3 separate regions of the Homo sapiens genome follow, and regions 1 and 3 are each linked to region 2. The links are contacts of gene promoters, found by promoter capture Hi-C in human tissues and cell types (Jung and others, 2019). All regions are on one chromosome and are shown on one strand. Each heading gives the region's core, a stretch centred on a gene start or on the middle of the fragment in contact. The rest is flanking DNA. Distances are from core to core; before and after follow the strand shown. Region 1 overlaps CCNF (cyclin F). Region 2 holds the start of CEMP1 (cementum protein 1). Region 3 has its middle 13 kb from the start of CCNF.

Evidence for each region. Contacts are between HindIII fragments. The study calls those that stand out against the background at their distance.
Region 1: a fragment that was not itself captured here is called in contact with the fragment with the promoter of CEMP1 in region 2 in 4 of the 25 tissues and cell types used here (dorsolateral prefrontal cortex, lymphoblastoid cells, spleen and 1 more).
Region 3: a contact is called between a fragment that was not itself captured here and the fragment with the promoter of CEMP1 in region 2, in 2 of the 25 tissues and cell types used here (dorsolateral prefrontal cortex and lymphoblastoid cells).

The regions. Positions count from the first base shown.
Region 1 is chr16:2,438,295-2,441,163 of GRCh38, forward strand. It overlaps CCNF (cyclin F), which reads left to right. Exons shown (of 17, transcript NM_001761.3): 7 at 1,059-1,163; 8 at 1,455-1,532. Among named protein-coding and RNA genes, the nearest start is that of MIR6767, 5.7 kb to the right of the region's middle. RefSeq lists a silencer at 1,992-2,081. The HindIII fragment of the contact is 4,391 bases long and covers 1-2,869 here.
Region 2 is chr16:2,530,061-2,533,147 of GRCh38, forward strand. It overlaps CEMP1 (cementum protein 1), which reads right to left and starts at 1,348. Exons shown (of 1, transcript NM_001048212.3): 1 at 1-1,348. The coding sequence starts at 1,013. The coding sequence ends at 270. AMDHD2 (amidohydrolase domain containing 2) reads left to right here. Exons shown (of 11, transcript NM_001330449.2): 11 at 1-1,357. MIR3178 (microRNA 3178) reads right to left here and starts at 1,945; the gene lies at 1,862-1,945. RefSeq lists enhancers at 1,751-1,800, 2,579-3,087, 2,581-2,630. The HindIII fragment of the contact is 25,225 bases long and covers 1-3,087 here.
Region 3 is chr16:2,415,242-2,418,140 of GRCh38, forward strand. It overlaps the pseudogene ABCA17P. Among named protein-coding and RNA genes, the nearest start is that of CCNF, 13 kb to the right of the region's middle. The HindIII fragment of the contact is 3,069 bases long and covers 1-2,899 here.

The sequences.
Region 1 (2,869 bases), core at 347-2,846, 92 kb before region 2:
GCTCCGATCCTGGCTCCATGACCCGCCTGGCAGGGGAGTGGGGGACGGTGAGAACAGCAGAGCAGATCTCAAGGAGGCATCGAACCTCGATGCTCACTCGTCTGCTGGCCCTGCTCCTCGTGGGCCTCTCCTGCTCGTGTGGACCTCTCTGCCTGGCCAAAATGGTGAAACCACGTCTTTACTAAAAAACACAAAAATTAGCTGGGCGTGGTGGCGGGTGCCCATAATCCCAGCTACTCAGGAGGCTGAGGCAGGGAGAATTGCTTGAACCTGGGAAGCGGAGGTTGCAGTGAGCCGAGATTGCACCACTGCACTCCAGCCTGGCAACAGAGTGAGACTCAGTCTCAGAAAAAAAAAAAAAAAGTATGGAAAAGGAGGAAGATGGTGAGTAGAGTGATTGAACATCAAGTAAAGAATAAGGGCCGGTCATGGTGGCTCATTCCTGTAATCCCAGCACCTTGGGAGGCCGAGGCGGGTGGATCACCTGAGGTCAGGAGTTTGAGACCAACCTGGCCAATGTGTTGAAACCACGTCTTTACTAAAAAACACAAAAATTAGCCGGGCATGGTGGTGGGCACCTGTAATCCTAGCTACTTGGGAGGCTGAGGCATGAGAGTTGCTTGAACCCGGGAAGCTGAGGTTTTAGTTAGCCAAGATCGTGCCACTATACTTTGGCCTGGGTGACAGAGGGAGACTCTGCCTCAACAACAACAAAAAAACCAGCCAGGCACAGTGGCTCATGCCTGTAATCCCAGCACTTTGGGAGACTGAGGTGGGTGGATCACCTGAGGCCAGGATTTTGAGACCAGCCTGGCCAACATGGTGAAACCCCGTCTCTACTAAAAATACAAAAATTAGCCGGGCATGATGGTGGGCTCCTGTAATCCCAGCTACTCAGGAGGCTGAGGCAGGAGAATTGGTTGAACCCAGGAGGCGGAGGTTGCAGTGAGCCAGGATGGCGCCATTGCACTCCAACCTGGGCGACGAGTGAAACTGTCTCAAAAAATAAAAATGAAAAAGAATAAGGGAACAATGAACTCTGCTGGGATTTATTCTAGGATGAGGAGAAGCAGCAGCAGGCCCATGACCTGTTTGAGGAGGCTGCTCATCAGGGATGTCTGACCAGCTCCTACCTCCTCTGGGAAAGCGACAGGAGGACAGATGTGAGTGGTGCCTGCTCTGGGTCGGGGGGAGTTATGCTGGACAAAGGCGTAGTTGATGCTGGTCCTTGGATGCGTTTCTGTCCACAAAAGGGAGGTGGCTCTTGCTGCTCCCGGTCTCTCAGCCTCCGGGAACCACTGGTCAGTCGGCTATTCTTGGTACCCCCAAAAATGACTCCACCATTTGAGAGAGAAGAGGTGGGAAGTTAGCGTAGTGTCGGCCCTTCTGGGTCTTGGTTCTGAGTTCCTCCCAAGACACAGTTGTACAAAGGCTCGGTGATCTCCCATTGACAGGTGTCAGATCCTGGGCGATGCCTCCACAGCTTCCGAAAACTCAGGGACTACGCTGCCAAAGGCTGCTGGGAAGCGCAGGTGAGGTGCGGGGCTGGGATGACGTGGGGAGCTGGCCTTTCTCCCTCCAGCCTTGGGGCAGGACTATCTGGGCTCCCACATTGGGGGGCAGGACTATCTGGGCTCCCACATGGGAGGCCAGGATTGAGGGACACCCTAAGATCGGTTCAGCACTGGAACTGGTCCTAAAGGACAGGTACACTGTGAGAAGAGCTGGGAAATGCGTTATTCATCTCTGCCTATCCACTCTTGCCTCTCAGCCAGCCAACCTCTTAATTTTCAAATGCTTGTGAGCTATAGCTGCTGTCAAAATTTGTGCCATTCTTGAAAGTTGTCCCATAGGTAGAACTGATCTTGACAACAAAACTTGAGGCTACTTGAGAGCAGAGGGGCGTGGAGAGTCCCTTCCTGCTTCCTCTTCCTGTTAGCGCCTTGCTTGTCATGTCACCTGGTCACCAAGTCATCCAGGGCTACAGGCAGGAAATCAAGCATTGGTAGACTCTCCCCTCACAGCTATAAATAAGTTGTTAGGGCCAGGTGCGGTGGCTCACGCCTGAAATCCCAGCACTCTGGGAGGCCAAGGTGGGCGGATGACCTGAGGTCAGGAGTTCGAGACCAGCCTGGCCAACATGGTGAAACCATCGCTACTAAAAATACAAAAATTAGCTGGGCGTGGTGGCAGGCACCTGATACTCAGGAAGTTGAGGCAGGAGAATCGCTTGAACCCGGGAGGCAGAGGTTGCAGTACCACTACACTCCAGCCTGGGCGACAGAGCAAGACTCTGTCTGAAGGAAAAAAAAAGTTGTCAGGACGAATCAAAGAAAGCTCCTATTTGCCAAATGGATAGAAGCTTGTTCTTGTCACCCCACCAAGTGGGTGGCAGAGTGATCTGCGCTCAAATGCTAGGGACAAAATTACAAATTGATAATGGCCCAGCCCGAGGTGTCATAGCACATTGTGGTGTTCACGTCCAAAAAGCCAGTCTACAGATTTACAAGAAGGCCAGACGTGATGGCTCACGCCTGCAATCCCAGCGCTGTAGGAGGTTGAGTTGGGAGGATCGCTTGAGCCCAGGAGTTCAAGACCAGCTCTGGCAACATAGTGAGACTCCATCTCGACAAAAAATTTTAAAATTAGCTGGATGGGCTGGGTGCAAGTGGCTCATGCCTGTAATGCCAGCACTTTGGGAGGCTGAGGCGGGCGGATCACGAGGTCAAGAGGTCGAGACCACCCTGGCCAATGTGGTGAAACCCCGTCTTTACTAAAAATACAAAAAAATTAGCTGGGCCTGGTGGCATGTGCCTAGAGTCCCAGCTACGCGGGAGGCTGAGGCAGGAGAATTGCTTGAACCCAGGAG
Region 2 (3,087 bases), core at 98-2,597:
GGGGTGTGCAGCGTGGAGCCCACAGCCTGGTTCTGGGCCAGGGCACAGTGCCAGGGGCTCCGCTCTGACCTCCAGGAGGGAGACTGGGCCCGGGACCCCTGTTTTCTGCTCCCTGGACTGCCTAGCCCTGAGTGCCACGGATGACCAGCGTTCTGTTTTCTCTTCTCAATAACCCTATCTCTTCACACATCCCCAGGCCCAGTGCTTGCCGGCTGTGGTGACCCTGCCTGGTGCTGGAGGGCAGTATGGGAGGCACCAGTGTGCCCTGCTCACCCCATTAGTGTCATCCTGCCATCTTCTGTGTCCCCTTGGCCCTGGCACACACCCATGTGGCAAACACGGGCCGTGAGGCTCCCTGAACAGCTTCGAGGCGGGTGGGCTTCTGGAGCCCTCTTGGCTCTGAGGACAGCCACAGTGGGGTCAGACGTCAGGGATTGGTGCAGCCCCACGTCAGGGGTGATTGTCTTGACTTTCTCTCCATTTGAGTTCTGGGGTGGGTGGCTCCCTTCCCCCTTGCTTACAGGTGCTGTCCTGGGCACAGGAGGTACGCGCCTGGCTCTGCCACTGTTCTCTTCCCTCTGCTGCAAAGCCCAGTTAAGGAAATGTCTCCAGGTCCAAAGAGATAGGATGGTCTGGGCCCCACCTGTTGGAAGGGAACAGCCAGGGAAGAACCACCTGCCTGGGCAGGGCCTCGCCTGAGGGAGGGCCTGGGGCAGGGCACAAGGGGTTGATCTCAGCCCACAAGCCCCAGGGGCAGCCCAGGAAAGCAGGCGACGGATGTGGATCCTGACCTCCTGAGAGGTGTGAGGTGCAGGGATACCCACCTCTGCCTTGACGGCCGCGCACCCCTTAGGAAGTGGCTGTCCAGCGCCTGCCTGTGCTGGGCCTGGGAGAGGAGCTGTCTTGCCAGGGCTCCCAGGCAGGGAGAGGCAGGTGAGGTTCTCAGCCGATGTGTTAGAGGTTGAGCATCGCCTGTGCCCAGCTTGCTGGCTGTCAGTGCTTGATGTGCCCATCCTCAGCTAAAACCCAGAGCTGGCATGTTGGTCATCCCCACCTCAGACGGGACGCCCAGTCCAGAGCTGGTGAGCCCTGGGCCAGCCTTTGGGCCTGGCCTGCCCCATTCACCGGCCAGCGCCCCACCTCCCTGGCTGGAGGGTCGGGGAGGGGCTGGCAGAGATGGTTGGTCCACAGGGCTAGCCCTGGGTGGTGGGAGAGGGGCCCAGGGTCAGGGTGAGAGAGAGCTGGGCCAGGGAGCTGCTGCAGGATGATTTTGAGGTGTGGGGGAAGCACTCTTGGTTGGTTTTGGTTTGCTTTTTAAAAATTGTGGTAAAATACATAACAAAAGTAACTATCGTAACCTGAGCAGTTCTGTGACATGAAGTGAATTCACTGCTTTGTGTGACCTTGGCCACCATCATTCCCCACCACTCACTCCCGCTGGGCTCCCAGCCCTGCCCCACCATTCCGCTCCCTCTACAGCTATGGGTTTTACAAAGAAGGATGCAGGGCGCCCTGACTGCGGGGTGAGGGGCAGGCCTGCCCGCGGTGTGGGCATTCGCTGAAGGGGGACGCCCAGGTGTCTGCCTGAGTTACGGGTTGGGGGGTCGGGCATGTGGGGAGGGATGGAGTTGGAGGTGCATGCTCTCAGAGCTGGTAGGGGTGGCCCGTTTCGTCCCGTGTGTGAACTGGAGATGAGACCCGGCGCCTGCGATCCCGCAGACCGCGCCCGGCCGGGTGTCACTTGTGGGCGCACGCTGCCGGGATGCTGGGCCGAGCCCGCGGTTTAAGACCCAGATCTCAGCCAGGTCCCTTTCGCCGTCCGAGCCTCTGCACCTCGTGGGCTCCGAGCACATCCAGGCCAGAGACTGCGTTTGGGGCGTGGGCACGGGAGACCGTCATCAGCCAGGACGCTCTCGACCGATCCGGCCGCGCCCCGCCCAGCCTCGTAGCGCAGGCGCTGAGTCCAGGCTGACGCGCAACTCTGGGAGCGTTGCGGCACGCGGGGCCTTGCCTACTGTGGGAGGGGCTTCTGGGGGCGGGCTTCTGTCGGGCCAATTAGGATCGCCGCAGGGAAGGCACGCGCCGCGGCTGAGCAACAGGGGCGCGCGTCACCTTCTCTAGTTAACCCGCGCGGCCCCGGGCACAGAGCCCGAGGCTGCGCGGTCCCCGGCGGGCCCGCGGACCCCCCCCATCTCTGCGCCCCCCACATCTCTGCGGACCCCGCCTCGCCCCAGCCCTCCCATCCACAACCCTCACAACCTTGCATACCCCGCTACGCTCCCCACCGCGCCCTCACATTCCTGCAGACCCCGTCTCCCCACAACGCTCCCCGCCAACGCTGCGGAGCTCCGCGTCGCCCCAGCGCTCCCTGCCAAGCCCCCCACACCCCTGTAGACCCCGCCTCGCCCCAACCCTCCGAGCTGCTCCCCTTATACCCTTGCGGACCTAGTTTGTTTCGTCCCAGTCCTCCCCGTCGCGTCTCCCACATCCCTGCGGACCTCCCCGCGCCTCGCCTCTCCCTTCTGTTACGTATCACGCACAGGTGGATCCCACTACGACCCAGCTTGGCTCCTGTCCCGCACCTCCGCACCTGGCCTCTAGCCCCGCCCTCACTGTCTTGGGAAATGAAGCGGAGGGGTGGGCCGGACACTCTAGAAGCACCCTGGCTCGGAGCTTCCCTAGCTCGGAGTTGGTTTGGAGCCCAGGCTAGGGACCCAGGGTGGGCGCAGCAGGGGAGATTGGCACCAGAAGCGTGGAGGAAGGGCACCTCTTCAGCCCGGCTTTTCCGCCCCTGGAGTCTGGGACAGCTCCGGAGCGTCCGGGTACTCCCTCCCAGACTGGCCCTGTTCCTTTTATCACATTTATGTCACACACGTTTTTTCTAAATGGGTTTACACTTTTGCTATTACTTTGCAGTTCGGTTTGTGTGTGTGTGACGGAGCCTGGCTGTGTTGCGCAGGCTGGAGTGCAGTGGTGCGATCTCTGCTCACTGCAGCTTCCGCCTCCCGGGTTCAAGCGATTCTCCGCCTCAGCCCCCTTAGTAGCTGGGATTACAGGCGCACGCCACCACACCTGACTAATTTTTTT
Region 3 (2,899 bases), core at 180-2,679, 110 kb before region 2:
CTTGGCCTCTGTCCAAAGGGAGGGTGCCTTCGGGGGCTGCTGGAGCAGCATGTTCCCTGATAATCAGTGCTGGTGGGTGGTAGAGAACAATGTAACCACCTGCTAGGGGACAGTCAGGATTCCTGTGGCCACATGCCCAGCACAGACTTTCAAACAACCTTTGGGCCCCTCCCCTCATTTTTTTTTTTTAAGAAAGAAGGTCTTGCTCTGTTGCCCAGGCTGGAGTGCAGTGGTGCAATTATGGCTCACTGCAGCCTAGAACTCCTGGACTCAACCAGTCCTCCCACCTCAGCCTCCTGAATAGCTGGAACTATACAGGTGCACACCACCGTGCCTGGCTCAGAAGTATAGTTTTCTACCTTTATGATGTGGAAGACCCTCCAGAGCTTGCCATGAAACCCAGAAACGACAAAGTAGTATATAATATTTAAATACATAAACATTCAAGTCTATATAAGAAAAGACACATTAACTGATGTTAAATAACGGAAATACTTGACACATACATAAAGGACAAAGACACATACATATATATACATACACACATATATATATATCTCCATCATATAAATCAGTGAGAAAATATGAACAATTTGTTAGTAAAAAATGGGCTGAAGAAATAAATGGGCTATTCATAGAAGAAAAAACATCCAGTGCCTAATAACCATATGAAAATATGCCTAATTTTACCTAAGGATTTATAGACAGATAATATCTAGTATTATCAACAGAATCGGAAATAGGCATCCCCATAGGCTATTGGTAAGATCAAGCTTTTTGGAGGACAATTTGGCACTATTTATTAAATTTTAAAAGTGCACCCCTGGCGGGGCGTGGTGGGTCACGCCTGTAATCCCAGCACTTTGGGAGGCTGAGGCAGGCGGATCACGAGGTCAGGAGATGGAGACCATCCTGGCTAACACAGTGAAACCCCATCTCTACTAAAAATACAAAAAATTAGCCGGGCATGGTGGTGGGTGCCTGTAGTCCCAGCTACTCGGGAGGCAGAGGCGGGAGGCTGAGGCGGGAGAATGGCGTGAACCCGGGAGGCGGAGCTTGCAGTGAGCAGAGATCACGCCACCGCACTCCAGCCTGGGCCACAGAGCGAGACTCCGCCTCAAAAAAAAAAAAAATTAACCAGCACACTCACTCTGAGGGAAGCTAAGTGCCATTGCCATGTCATGCAGACACCTAGGTGGCCCTGCAGAGAGGTCTGTGTGCTGAGGAGCAGTCAGAAAGTACCTGAGACCTGCCAGCCACTTGGAAACAGCTCCTTTAGCCTTCAGGAGACTTCCAGCCCAACTGACAGGTTAGCAGCACCCCATGAGAGACCCTGACCAGCACCACCTAACTAAGCTGCTCTGAGATTCCTGATCTAATGCATAGAAACCATGAAATAACAAATTACACCCACGTTTTGGAGTAATTTGTTATGCAGCAACATATGACTAATCACATAGGAAGGATACAGTGCGAAGGCTTAATATGTGTGTAACAGAAGTTCCAAAAGGAAGGGCAGACAAGGCAACATTTGAAACCACATGGCTAAAACTTTTCAAAATGTATGAAAGACATCAATCACAAATGAAGCCCTATTAGCCCCAAGCAGGATAACAAAAAGAAATCAGCCCCTAGGAGCAGTATAGTAAATTTGCTGAAAACCAAACACAAGAAAAAGTCTTAAAAGGACCCAGAGATAAAACGTGGAGTCCCTTCACAAGAGCAACAGTTACACTGGCAGCTGGCCCCATCACAGAAATAATAGAGGCCAGAAGACAATAGAATGATACATTGTAAGTGATATAAGAGGAAACAACCTACCTAGAGTAAAGTAACCCATAAAACTACACTTAGGAAAGAAAGTTTTGTTTGTTTGTTTGTTTGTTTGAGATGGAGTCTCGCTCTGTTGCCCAGGCTGGTACAGTGGCATGATCTAGGCTCACTGCACCCTCTGCCTCCTGGGTTCAAGCGATTATCCTGCCTCAGCCTCCGGATTAGCTGGGATTACAGGTGCCTGCCACCACACCCAGCTAATTTTTGTATTTTTAGTAGAGACGGGATTTCACCATGCTGGCCAGGCTGGTCTCGAACTCCCACCCTCAGGCGATCTGCCCTCCTCGGCCTCCCAAAGTGCTGGGACTACAGGTGTGAGCCACCAGCACCCGGCCAGAAGGTATTTTTAAAAAGACCTTCAGACAAATAGAAGCTGAGAGAATTTATCACCAGCAGATGTATGCAAAAGGAGATAATAAAGAGTAAGTTTCAGGCAGAAGGAAAATGATCCCAGATGGAAACTCAAAGATTCAGAAAGGGCTAGGTGCGGTGGCAGAGCTCATACCTGTAATCCTATCACTTTGGGTAGCTAAGGCAGGTGGATTGCTTGAGGCCAGGAGTTCGTTCGAGACCAGCCCAGGCAACACAGTGAGACCCCCATCTCTACAAAAAATAACAAATTAGCTGGGTGTAGTGGCCTGCTCCTGTAGGCCCAGCTACTCCAGAAGCTGAAGTAGGAGGTTCACTTGAGCTCAGGATTTGAAGTTATGGCAAGCCATGCTCATACCACTGCACTCTAGCCTGGGTGACAGAGCAAGACCCTATTAAAAAAAAAATACAGAAAGGATGGCTGGGCGGGGTGGCTTATGCCTGTAATCCCAGCACTTTGGGAACCCAGGGTTAAAAAAAGGAGTAAAAAGTGATTATTTATTTTTTTATTTTTTTTATTTTTTTTTGAGACAGAGTCTCGCTCTGTCGCCAGGCTGGAGTGCAGTGGCGTGATCTCGGCTCACCGCACCCTCCACCTCCTGGGTTCAAGTGATTCTTCTGCCTCAGCCTCCCGAGTAGCTGGGATTACAGGCACGCGTCACCATGCCCGGGTTATTTTTGTATTTGTAGTAGAGAT